Linked DNA regions of Homo sapiens: region 1 is linked to region 2. Evidence: promoter capture Hi-C in 16 types of primary human blood cells and fetal thymus (Javierre and others, 2016). All regions are on one chromosome and are shown on one strand. Each heading gives the region's core, a stretch centred on a gene start or on the middle of the fragment in contact. The rest is flanking DNA. Distances are from core to core; before and after follow the strand shown.

Evidence for each region. The method cuts DNA at HindIII sites, captures the fragments that hold promoters and counts their contacts. A CHiCAGO score of 5 or more calls a contact.
Region 1: a contact is called between a fragment that was not itself captured here and the fragment with the promoter of PRKACG in region 2, in 7 of 17 cell types (erythroblasts, megakaryocytes, monocytes and 4 more). The highest score is 16.4, in erythroblasts.

The regions. Positions count from the first base shown.
Region 1 is chr9:68,717,990-68,724,677 of GRCh38, forward strand. All of the region lies in intron 1 of PIP5K1B (phosphatidylinositol-4-phosphate 5-kinase type 1 beta), which reads left to right. Among named protein-coding and RNA genes, the nearest start is that of PIP5K1B, 16 kb to the left of the region's middle. The HindIII fragment of the contact is 1,078 bases long and covers 1,953-3,030 here.
Region 2 is chr9:69,010,627-69,017,312 of GRCh38, forward strand. PRKACG (protein kinase cAMP-activated catalytic subunit gamma) reads right to left here and starts at 3,487. Exons shown (of 1, transcript NM_002732.4): 1 at 1,878-3,487. The coding sequence starts at 3,466. The coding sequence ends at 2,411. The HindIII fragment of the contact is 8,295 bases long and covers 1-6,686 here.

The sequences.
Region 1 (6,688 bases), core at 1,242-3,741, 290 kb before region 2:
CAATTTATTTAGAAAGCATGAGTGCAATCTGCCATCCCCCTGGCACTGCCTATGATGTGTGTCAGCCTAGAGGTGTGCATTTACTGAGGAGCTGACAGGACTCCACATATAGTGCTCTGTCCACTCCTATGAAACCACAGAAAGTTGTGAGTTTAAAACCCCCTAAAGACTCCCCTTGCAAAGTTTTATCAAGAAGGCATAGTAAAACTTGGAGAGTAGACATATGATAGAACTTTGAGTTGGACAAAAGTGACTCAGATGGCTGCCTTGTCTGTCATAAAACATATGTAAGCTTCAATCATCAAACATGGCCTTTAACCTGGGAAATGTCTGTATTTTTTCCTATAGTGCTCACCCTAAAGTTCACACTAATTTATTTTAGTAAGAACCTAAATACTGTAAGGAAAACAATCTCTGACTTTAAAAATATGTGAAGAATAAAGAATAATTTGACGGTGTAGTTTTTTTCTTCCTGAAATTCCTTCAGACATTAAGCCTGCTCATTTTCATTGGCCACTGAAGCACAAAATTGAAGGGGCTCAAAATAGGGAACCCTTGGCTATGCAGAACCTTTGGGCAGGCTGTTTTACTTCTAGAAAACATTTCCTGATTGCTTGCTCCTTTAACTGCCAGCAATTATTATGGCCAAGTTTTGTATAGAAAATTTTCCCAGCATTGTCTCATCTGTCCCTGATTCTTTAAAAGATTATACAGAACAGAGTGTGTCTTTTATGCTACTGTAAAGTGATAGATTTAGTATTCATTCAGGAATGCAAGGCTCTTTGCCCCTAAACCAAATGGCCCTACTTTGCTGTCTTCTAAAATCTTGTCTGCTTTTTCTTGATAATTTTTTTTTTGGCCCTACTTCTGTGGCTCTCAGCAGTGAGCCCCTTCACTCATTGTTGGCTATTGAAAGTCCATTGTGATTTTGGGAACCAGATAACCATACTGTCTGAAATGTGTTTGCCAGATAGAGTCATATTATCCATTGAAACTGAAATTTTAAAAAAGGATCAAAAGTAGTATTTGAGGGAGGTCTTCAAGAGTTCTACTGGTAAAGCAAGCAAGCTTTAGTTCTTTCTTGTTCGCTTCATTCATTAGCCAATAGCATGTTTTCTTCTGCCCTGTTTTTGGGTTGTTCAGATAAAGTGATACCTTTTCAGGCTGTGATAGGCATGCTTTCTTTTTTCTTTCTTTTTGTAACATATTGATAATGTGTTTACTATATTATGGTCTAAAGCAGGATTTCATAGACTTTTTCATTTAAGTTAAACATAGTGGCAATTGATGAGTATTTTGGTAACAGCTTTATTTGCAATGCTTTATGCCTTTAAAGGTTATAGATTACTGCATTTCTCTTTTCCTTGGAGAAACTGCATAGCAAAGTTCCCCAGATTTTCCTGATTTCCATCTTCCATTGGAAAACAAGTTCAATATCCACAATAAAACAAGGAAGCTGAATACTGAAAAATTAACTTATTTTTAAGGAGTGATGTGAACCAGACTGTTCTGAGGTTTACGACTGCATTGTATGGGAACAAAAAGAAGCAACGGTGTCATTGCTGTGGCAAGCTGTATTTAAATGATGCCCTTTTATTTTTTTCAAGATGTGTTGTTCAGACTCAGTTGTGAAGATTATGGAAACTGAAACAAATGGGAAATCAGTCTCTCCTGCTAAGGGTTAAGAGAGAAACACGACTTTTGTTTACATTTGTTTATAGGAAACAGAATGGAAATTCAGCTTTTAAGATGTCTGTACAGTTGGGCTTCATTATTTAGTTTAGCAGTTTCTCAGAAACTCCCTCTCCTACATGACAATTTATAATGCAAACATGATGCATCATTTCATTTTGTGTAAACTTTATAGAAGGAATAGTCTTTTCCACATATGTCAAAAGACTTCTGGAAGCATTTTAGAACTGAATGCTAAGTATCCTACACATGTGCCTGGAAGCTTTAGAAATGATCAGCAGCAGCACTTTCTGACCTTACATTTTTGTTTGTTTCTTCATTTGTCCGCCTCCTTACTGAAAGGTAAAGTTTCACAAGAGCAGGAACTTTGTTCTGTTTACTACACTGTCTCCAGCACCTAGAACAGTGTCCAGCACAAAGACAGCCTGTATTATTATCATTGTTGAATGAACTCATTCTTAAGCTATAAAAACAAATTCTTAAGCTGTAACCGTTTTTCCCTTGACTTCTGAGCTCCCCCTTCCTTTACAAAATTTCAGTAGCCTAGCATCTAGCCTTGCCACTGCTTCAAGTTCCTTCCCCGAGGAGCAGCCTTGTTTGTTGCCAGATTACAGTCTTTCTTCTGTCTCTTGCTTTTTGCACCTTTAAAAGTCTAGACCAATTTAATAACCCCACGCCCCATGGTCTCTTTGCTACTCAGCTGATTTTTTGATCCCAACTCTTACCTCTTTGAACAAACTCTATACTTGCAGCTGTGCAGTCACCTTTTAAAAATTCAGTCCACCTCCCTTCCCAAATACTGTTTTTATCAAACACACCCTCATTTTTTTTTTAACCCACCTTTGAAATTTTAGCACTCTTTTTACTTTGGTCATCTCTGTCTCTGTGCAGCTACCAATTTTTTAAAAATGTTCTCTTCTATTCTCACTTCTGTCTCCAGATACGTCTCTTACCTGGGCTGGTGTAGAAACTTCCCAAATAACTTCCATACCTCCCTATCTACCCGCTTTAAGCAATTGTAATACTGTCTCTTACCTGGGCTGGTGTAGAAACTTCCCAAATAACTTCCATACCTCCCTATCTACCCGCTTTAAGCAATTGTAATACCTGCTGCTAGAGAATGATTTTGTCACTGCCGTGGCAGGAAATCCTTAGATCCTTTACCGTGTCTGAAATCTGAAATGCTTTGGTTTGGGTACATTCTGGCCCTAGTTGACTGTTGATCATTGTCATCATCATTGTTGTCATTGTCATAGCTGTATAACAGTGATAGCAGCTACCATTTCTTAAACTCTTACTTTATACCAGGCATAACACGTATGAAGCATGACATCATGAAGCTTGTTAGTGCATTTTGGAGCTGTATAATGTGATAATGGGTAGGGTGGCTGTGGGTGGAATAAGATAGGGCTGGAGAGGTGTATCGGGCCAGACCATCGACATCTTGTCAGCTGTGCTAAGGAGTTTGAACATTTCTTCTACAGGCAATGAGGCAACAACTAGAAGAGTTTGATGGAGAAGTGATGAGGTCATATTTTGTTTCATAATGGCAACATGAGCAATAGTTTAGGGGATGAATTAGAAGGGTAAGAGACTGGAGATAGGGAGACTAATCACAGAAGAGATGAAAAGGACCTGAAGTAATGTAGTGTGGATAGGGAAGAGTGAGTAGATTTGATATTCAAGAGGGAGAATTTCTAGGACTTGATGACCACCTGGATATGAGTTTTGGGGAATGGTAGTAGTAGATGATTCTCTGGCTTTTGGCTTGAGTGACTGGAGAGATTGGGGAATGATGCTCAACTGAGAGAGAATACCAGGTAGAGGCATCGTACATATGGTAGCAGAGGCAGGAGGGCTGTGATGATGAGTCCTATTTTGGACATGCATTTGAGATACCTGGGGGCTATCCAGGTAGGATGTGGCTGTAAGATCAATCCATGATGGAGACACTGGCTGTGTTGTGGTCATATCATCTGGGCTGTGGGAGAGCATGAGATCGAATGAGATTGAGATACAGGACATGAAGGTGGAGAGTCTAAAGAGAAGCTGTGTGTAAGTGTGGAAGAGGCCATGATGAAGACACAGTATTATGAGCTCTTGCCAGCAATTAAAACCATGAGACTAAATGAAATGTTCCTGAAATTGTGTAAGAAGAAGACAGAAGATCACTTGTTGATCTTCACTTGCAATTTCATTTCCCTGTAGCGTGGCTCATTCCGTTGTTTTCTTTTCTCTGTTTAAGGAAATGGCATCAGATTTTCATGATAGCATGTACAGCCTACTGTTTCGGAAGACCTCTCTGAGCCCACTGATCCCCACTCTGCCTCCCTAGAAGTGATTTCTCAGGCACACATTCTCTTTGGTCCTCTTGCTCCTGTGACTCTTTGGGAACTTTCCCTAGAGGCTTCTGTTTCATTTGTTCTCTGCTTATCTCTCCAAGCAGATTCGAGTCCTGACAGCAGGGATCATATCTTTGCCTGCTTTGTCTCCCCCAACCAAAACCTAACAGCTCTTTCTTTATTTTTTATTTTTATTTTTTGAGATGGAGTCTCCCTCTGTCACCCAGGCTGGAGTGCAGTGGTGCGATTTTGGCTCACTGCAACTTCACCTCCCGGGTTCAAGCGATTTTCTGGCCTCAGCCTTCTGAGTAGCTGGGATTACAGGTGCCTGCCTCCGCGCCAGGCTAATTTTTGTATTTTTAGTAGAGTCGGGGTTTCATCATGCTGGCCATGGTTGGCCAGGCTGGTCTCGAACTCCTGACCTCAAGTGTTCCGCCCGCCTCGGCCTCCCAGAGTGCTGGGATTACAGGTGTGAGCCACCGCACCCGGCCCTTAACAGCTCTTTCTATACTCTAGCTGCTCCTGCTACTTTTTTTTTCCCTTTTTCCTCTTTGGAGGCTCATTTGCTGACCATATTGTTGTTATTTTTATTTCATTTATTATAATTATTAATTAATTTTATTTATTACCATGTATGTATTTATTTATTATTAGTATATCATATAATATATAATAGTTGTAGATATGTTTGGGGTACTTGTGATATTTTGATACCTGTATGCACTGTGTAATGATCAAATCAGGGTAATGAGGATATCACCTCAAACATTTTTCATTGTGTTGGGAACATTATAATTCTTCTAGCTATTTGAAATATACAATAAATTATCATTAACTATAATTTCCCTACTGTACTATAAAATACTAGAACTTTTCCCATCTATCTGTGTTTTTGTATCCTTAACCAATTTCTCTTCATCCCCTCGTCTCCCCTACCCTTCACAGCCTCTCATAACTATCATTTTATTCTCTACCTCCATGAAATCCACATTTTTAGCTCCCACATACGAGTGAGAACATGGAATATTTGTCTTTCTGTGCCTAGCTTATTTCAGGTAACATAATGACTTCCGGTTTCCACCATGTTGCTACAAATGACAGGATCTCGTTCTTTTCTGTAGCTGAATAATATTCCTCTGTGTGTGTGTGTGTGTGTGAGAGAGAGAGAGAGAGAGGGAGAGAGAGAGAGAGACGTTTTCTTTGTGCATTCATCCACTGATGGACACTTACATTGATTCTATGTGTTGACTATTGTGAATAAATGCTGTAGTAAACAGGGGAGTGCAGATATCTCTTTGATATACTGATTTTCTTTCTTTTGGATATATACCTAACAGTGGGATTGCTGGATCAAATGGTAGTCCTATTTTTTTTTTCTTTTGAGGAACTTACATCGTTTTCCGTAATGGCTGTACATCTTTACATTCCCACCAATAGTATACAAATATTGCCCTTTCTCTACATCCTCTCCAGCATTTGTTACTTTTTGATTTTTTTTGGTAATAGCCATTCTTACTGGGGTGAGATGTTATCCCGTTGTGGTTTTGATTTGCATCTCCCTGATGATTAGTGATGTTGAGCATTTTTTCATATACCTGTTAGCCATTTGTATGTCTTCTTTTGAGAAATGTCTATTCAGGTCTTTTGCCCATTTTTTAATTGAAGTATTTGGTTTTTTTTTTTTTTTTTTTTTTGCTATTGAGTTGTTTGAGTTTCTTATGTATTCTGGTTATTAATCCCTTGTCAAATGGATAAATGGATAGTTTGCAAATATTTTCTCCCATTCTTTAGGTTGTCTCTTCACTTTGTTGATTGTTTCCTTTGCTGTGCAGAAGCTTTTCAGCTTGATGCAATCTCATTTGTCTATTAATATTTTGTTTTTGTTGCCTGTGCTTTTGGGTCTTACCCAAAAAATTATTGCCCAGACAAATATCTTATAAGATTTTCCCAAAATTTTTTTCAGTAGTTTCATAGTTTTAGGCCTTACATTTAAGTCTTTAATGCATTTTGAGTTGATTTTTGTATATGGTAAAAGATAGGTATCTAGTTTTATTCTTCTGCATATGGATATCCAGTTTTCCCAGCACTATTTATTAAAGAAACTGTCCTTTCCCCAGTGTATGTTCTTGGTGCCTTTGTTGAAAATGGGTTGGCTGCAAGTGTGTGGATTGATTTCTGAGTTCCGTAGGTCTATGTGTCTGTGTTTTTTTTGGGTTTTTTTTTTTTTGTTTTTTGTTTTAGCCAGTACCATGCTGTTTTGATTACTCTAGCTTTGTAGTATAATTTGAGATTAGGTAGTGTGATGCCTTCAGCTTGGTTCTTTTTGCTCAACATTTCTTTAGCTATTTTCAGTCTTTTGTGGTTTTATACAGATTTTAGGATTGTTTTTTCTATTTCTGTGAAGAATGTAATTGCTATTTTGGTAGAGATTGCATTGAATCTACTCCGTATAGCGATGTGCAGATTCAATTGTTAAATTGATATACAGATTTAATTGTTAAAATGATAAGCATTTTAACAATATTCTTCCAATCTCTGAGCATGAGACATCTTTTCATTTTTTGTGTCCTCTTCAATTTCTTTCATCAATGTTGTATAGTTTTCCTTGCAGAAACCTTTCACTTATTTGGTTGAGTTTATTACTAGGTTTTTTT
Region 2 (6,686 bases), core at 2,237-4,736:
TACTGGCTTTTTTTTTTTTTTTTTTTTTGAGACAGAGTCTCGCTCTGTCGCCCAGGCTGGAGTGCGGTGGTGCAGTCTCAGCTCACTGCAACCTCTGCATCCCGGGTTTAAGCAATTCCCCTGCCTCAGCCTCCCGAGTAGCTGGGATTACAGGCAGCTGCCACCATGCCTGGCTAATTTTTTGTGTTTTTAATAGAGACAGGGTTTCACCATGTTGGCCAGGCTGGTCTTGAACTCCTGACCTCGTAATCCGCCCGCCTTGGCCTCCCAAAGTGCTGGGATTACAGGCGTGAGCCACCGTGCCTGGCCACCTGCTGGCTCTTTCATGTCCCCTCTCCACCAATGCCATCCTCAAAGGTCACTATTATGACTTCCAGCATCATAGATTAGTTTTGCCAGTTCTTTTTTAACAAAACTTTATTGGTAATAGTTGGTTTTTTGTTTTGTTGTATTGAGACAGAGTCTCACTCTGTCACCCAGGCTGGAGTGCAGTGATGCGATCTCGGCTCACTGCAACCTCTGCCTCCCAGGTTCAAGCGATTCTCCTGCCTCAGTCTCCCAAGTAGCTGGGATTACAGGTGCATGCCACTACGCCCAGCTATTTTTGTATTTTTTAGTAGAGACGAGGTTTTGCAATGTTAGCCAGGCTGTTCTCAAACTCCTGACATCAAGTGATCCACTTGCCTTGGCCTCCCAAAGTGCTGGGATTACAGCACCCGGCCTTATTGGTAATAGTTTTGACATATGTTTACAACAGCACACTGTTCAAGAGGAAATCTCATCTTTTCACAGCAAGCAGGTTGAATCACCCTGAGCCCACCTGGGGACCCACCCCAGGCCTGAGAGCTCCTCCTGGGATGGGGAGAAGTGATGAGAGGGGGAAATATGAAGATGAATGAGGTGGCTTGCCAGCAGCTCCTCACTTTTCTATTAAGAAAGAAAACAGACCAGGGACGGTGGCTCACTCCTATAATCCCAGCACTTTGGGAGGCCAAGGCAGCTGGATCACCTGAGGTCAGGAGTTCAAGGCCAGCCTGGCCAATGTGGCAAAACCTCGTCTCTACTAAAAATACAATAATTAGCCGGGGATGGTAGTGGGCCCCTGTAATCCCAGCTACTCGGGAGGCTGAGGCAGGAGAGTCGCTTGAACCCGGGAGGCGGAGGTTGCAGTGAGCTGAGATTGTACCACTGCACTCCAGCCTGGGTGACAGAGTGAGACTTCATGTCAAAAAAAAAAAAAAATTGAAAACAGCACGGGGTGGCAGGGGAGAAGAGGTGAAGGATGGCTGACAGCTAAGCTGGAGAGGGGCACCCAGGATGGGAGAAGGCAGAAGCTGCTGGGTGAATAAAACAGGCAGCCCCTCCCCAGCAACCCTAGCCTTGAACCCTGGGCGATGAGGTGGGGGTGGAGGGGCTGGGCCTCTTCCATGTCCTTTTGCAGGACTGCCTTCCCATAAGGAGAGGCTGGGCATCACAATCTGGCTGAGAATAAAATTAAGGAGTTTCGGGGAAATGCTGCTGTGAAGAAAGACTTGGGCTTGGAACTCCCACTCTGTCTTTTTGGGGGACAACTCCTCTTTGGCAGGGAGTAGGGCAGCTGCTTTTCTGGCTCCCAAAGCCCAAGGGTGAAGAAAAGTCTGCTGGGGAAGAAGAGAGTGGAGCTTCCTAAAAGAACTGAGACCTTTGCAAGAGTGATAGAGGATGCCCCTGGGGAGGGGGGAGGGGGAAATCAGCAGTTCATGGGGGAAGTTCAAACCCCAGAGCCTCCTTCCAAAGTCAGTCGGCTTCCTGGATTTGTTAAAATGGAATGGGGAGACACGGTAAGGTGGGAAGGGTGGGAGGGGTGGAAGTAGAGGAAGGAGGAAAGGGGACACTGGTGGAACTTAAATAAGATTTTAATTGTTTTTTGTTTTAATTTTTTATTCTAGCAAACAGCCCACTGAACATGGCACTAAACCTCTCTCCTTCCCAGGCAGGATTACGCCAAAGGGTAGGTGTGCTTTTCATTCATCCTCTCTTAGTAAGTGGTGCCTGTTCAGGGCTGGAGTTAAGTTTGAGCCCCTCTTTCCACACCGTGTCCCTTGATACAACAGCAAGACCTGGCCTGAATAGAGCTGAGAAACTCGTTTAAAACAGGCAGAAGGGGGCTGGGGCAAGGGGGACCCTGTGGGAGGAGAAAGAGAGAAGCACAGAGGGACCAGGAAGGCATGGGGGGGGGTGAGGGAGCAGCTGGTGTTTCTGTTCCTCCAAATATCTGGGCTTCCTGCTCCCCCAACCCTGGAGGGTGGGGTGAGGATGAAATTAGATACAAGGAACTCTGGGGCCCTCTGGCTGTTCAATCCAACCCTCCCATCCCCCAAACCACCAAAAACAAAAAGGAAAGAAAACCCACAGGGGCACAAGCACACCCCTAAAACTCAGAAAACTCCTTGGCACACTTCTCATTGATGGAGATCCGGAGCTCTTCCTCCTCGTAGTCGTCAAAGTTACTGGCATCCCCAGGGCCTGTGTACTTCGGGATGAAGGGAGCTTCCACCTTCTTCTCATAGATGGCGATCCAGCTGGTTGTGGCGAACCACTTGTGGTTCTTGATGTCGCCAACCCCGTTCCTGAGGTTTCCGAAGCGCTTGGTGAGGTCCACCTGCAGCAGGCTCCGCAGCAGATGCTTGAGGTCAGAGCTGAGTTTGGAGGGAAACCGCACCCTCCCAGAGACGATCTTCTCGTAGATCTGGATGGGCTGGTCGGCGTAGAAGGGTGGGAAGCCCACGGCCATCTCATAGATGAGCACCCCTAGGGCCCACCAGTCCACGGCCTTGTTGTAGCCTTTGCTCAGGATGATCTCGGGGGCCAGGTACTCTGGGGTCCCGCACAAGGTCCAAGTGCGGCCCTTCACGCGCTTGGCGAAACCGAAGTCCGTCACCTGCAGGTAGCCCTGCTGGTCGATGAGGAGATTCTCGGGCTTCAGGTCGCGGTGGATGAGGTCGAGCGAGTGTAGGTACTGGACGGCCAGGACGACCTGGGCGGCATAGAAACAGGCATGGGGCTCGCTAAACCTTCCGACGCGCTGTAGGCGGGAGAACATCTCCCCACCCGGCACGTACTCCATCACCAGGTACAGGTAGGAGTTGTCCTTAAAGGAGAACTGGAGCTTGACGAGGAACGGAAAGTCGATCGCCTGCAGGATGCGCTTCTCGTTCAGTATGTGCTCGACCTGCTTCATCTTCACCACCTTCTGCTTGTTGAGGATCTTCATGGCGTAGTGGCCGCCGGTCTCCTGGTGCCTCACCAGCATCACCCGCCCGAAGGAGCCCATGCCCAGCGTCCTGAGCCGTTCGAACTGATCCGAGCTGGCGGTGTTTTGAGCGGGGTTTCCCCATCTGTAGAGGAAATCTCCTCTGGCTTTGGCTAGGAACTCGTTCACGCTCTCCTCCTGCTCGGTGTCCTTCTTGGCGGGGGCGTTGCCCATGGCGGTGGCGGCGGCAGGGGCGGGGGTCTCGCGGCGGCGGCGGCGGCGGCGGCAGCGGCGGAGATGGCGCCCCCTGGGGCTGGCTGCGCTGGCTGCGGCGCTGCGACCCCCGCCCGGCCTCCGCTTATATTCCCAGCTACATGGGAGGCTGAGATGGGAGGATTTCTTGAGCCTGGGAGGTCAAGGCTTCAGTGAGCCAAGATCACGCCGCTGCACTCAACAATATGGATAAATCCAAAAGGCATTATGCAAGTGAGAGAAGCCAACTCTAAAGGAGACTTACTGTATGAATCCATTTCTATGACATTCCAGAAAAGGCAAAACTATAGTGTGAGAGAACAGATCAGTGATTGCCAGGGCTTGGGGTTAGGGGACGGTTGGACTATGAAGGGACAGCCTGAGGGAATGTGGGAAGTGGTGGGACATGTTTGTATCCTGATTGTGCTGGTGGTTACAATGTATTGGGTGGTGGTCTACATTTGTTTTAAAACTCATAGAACTGGCCGGGCGCAGTGGCTAAAGCCTGTAATCCCAACACTTTGGGAGGCCGAGGCGGGCGGATCACAAGGTCAGGAGTTCGAAACCAGCCTGACCACCATAGTGAAACCCCGTCTCTACTAAAAATACAAAAAAATTAGCCAGGCGTGGTGGCGCATGCCTGTAATCCCAGCTACTCGGGAGGCTGAGGCAGGAGAATTGCTTGAACCTGGGAGGCAGAGGTTGCAGTGAGCAGAGATCGTGCCACTGCACACCAGCCTGGGCAATAAGAGTGAAACTCCATCTCAAAAACAAACAAACAAACAAACAAACACCTCAAAGAACTGTATACTTCCCCCCAAAATTCAGTTTTACTGCATGTAATGTTTTATTTTAACACATACATATGATTTCCTTTCTTCTGTTTGCTTTGGGTTTAATTGCTCTTATTTCCTAAGGTGGGAACTAAGGTCACTGATTTGAAATCTTTCTTCTATTACAATCACTTAGTGCTATAAATTTCCTCCTAAGTATTATTTTTTGCAGCATCCCACAAATTTTGGTATGTTGTATTTTCCTTTTCATCCAGCTCAAAATATTTTCTAAGCTCCCTTTTCATCTTCTTTGACAGATAAGCTATTTAAAAGTATATTATTTCGTTTCCAAATACTTGGGGATTTTTCAAGAATTTTCCTATTGATTTCTGATTTAATTCCATTGTTAGAAAACATACTCTGTGTGACCTAAAATGTTTTACACTTCTTGGGGCTCATTTTATGGCCCAGAATATGATCTATCTTGGTAGATGGCCCATATGCACTTGAGAAGAATGTATATTCTGGTGTATTCTGCTGTTTGAGGATACAGTGTTCTACAAATGTCACTTAGGTCAAGTTGGCTAGTAGTAGTGTTCAGGTCTTCTATATTCTTATTGACTTTCTGTTTACTTATTCTATCAATTATTAAAAACATGCCACAGGAGTTTATGAGAAGTCAAAGTACATAGATGATGGGCCTTCCATCACTCCCCCAGGCCACCATGTCAGCCGCCCCACACACCCTCCAGAAGACTGCCAGCACTCAGCCATCACAGGGTGGGTTCTGAGCTGCTCTCCCCAGTCAATTCTGTACAAAGATTCTGTCCTACATCATAAACACTGAGCTACAGGAATACCCATTTATCCTCCTATTTTCTCTCCATCTTGCCCTTTAAGTTTGACAGCTAATTCTGCCTACCCACCCTGGCTACACCGCCTGTAGCTAGTGCAAGTAAACAACACACTTTCACCTAGCCCTGCAGGCTGAAACCAAGCAAATTGGAGAGGAATCCCTGATTACTTGACTCCAAGTAGAAGGTTTCTATTGTGACTGTGAATTCTTGCCGCTCAGTTCAGCAGATGTTGGTCAAGCAGGTGTCTATTGTGTGCAAGGCCTGGTTCCGAGTTTACGGTTTAATCTGGGGCCAGTACTTGGGTACTGACTGTATATTCAGAGACGGTCAGGTTAGAGAGGAAGAAGAGGAAAGGAGAAAAATCTACTGTTGATCATCTGAACTTCCACAAAAGGGAAACCCACATTCCCTCAAGAACATAGCAGGGGGGTCAATTGCCCCTTGTGCTTTGGGTCAAGGCAAATCCCTGGCAGATGGAAATTCCACGTCTCCCCCATAATCTCAGTGATTTCCTCTTCATTTTCATCACAGTAGATCTGCTAAAATTCTGCCCATTTCTGACTTACCTCCAGATTATTCAGTAGAAATTTATACACAAAGAGCAATTAGTGGGAAGCCATTCTCTTGGACCGACGCCTTGGAAGTGGGACAGTTTGTTTAGAAGCAGGCTGTGCCATTCCATGACAAATTCTTGTGGCATTAATCTCTGAAGTTCAATTAGGAAGACACAGGGGTCTAGAGGGAACATATGCTGCACACTAGAAATGTCCCCATGCTTCGTTTACAGGTCAGAACATCAAGTATTTATCCCAGAACAAGCTGCAGAATAATTACATTTGTTATTTCTCTCCACTTTCCGTTCTGCTTTTCTCCATGGCCTTGGGGAGCAAGGGAGTCCTTAGCATGCCAAGGAAACAGGAATCCTTTTGCATTCAGATAAACCCTTTCAGAAGGAAAAGATTTGTGTAGCAAGATACAATACCTCTGCATGATCTGCTTGGAGCTTGCCTAGGGGGCCAAATGAAGAGGTGAAAGCCAACTCTGCTTTCCTGTATGCCCAATGAAAGGCAATCAAGACCATTCTTCTCCCAAAAAACTGCTCACTGGCAGTCATGCCAGCTGATTCTCCTCTTTACTGTTTATATAGCAGTTTCCAAATGGCTAATTGCATAAGGCTTGGATCATTCAATTCTAACTTCCTCTCTATCTCCAAAATATTGATGGGAGCAAAGAAAAGAACAAACTCCACCAGGATTCAAATAAGAAATAAACTACAAATCTCTATCACTCAGGGAATTATTTACATAACACTGCATGTTCTGGTCCAGAAATACTTATCATACCTGGATTTTGACAAGCCAGCTTCTATTAATAGTTTGTTTTCTCCTTATTAGCAGAATATTGTAAAAGAACATTTTTGAACACAAAGTTTCTATGTCAGATTTATGATCTATAAAATGCTGATTTAAAAATTGGCGTGGCCTTTGTTATATGAAAGATGAAAAATTATGGGAGTCAGGAAGTTCAGAAATAACTTAATGACAATAATTTATAAAGTACTACATTTATTTA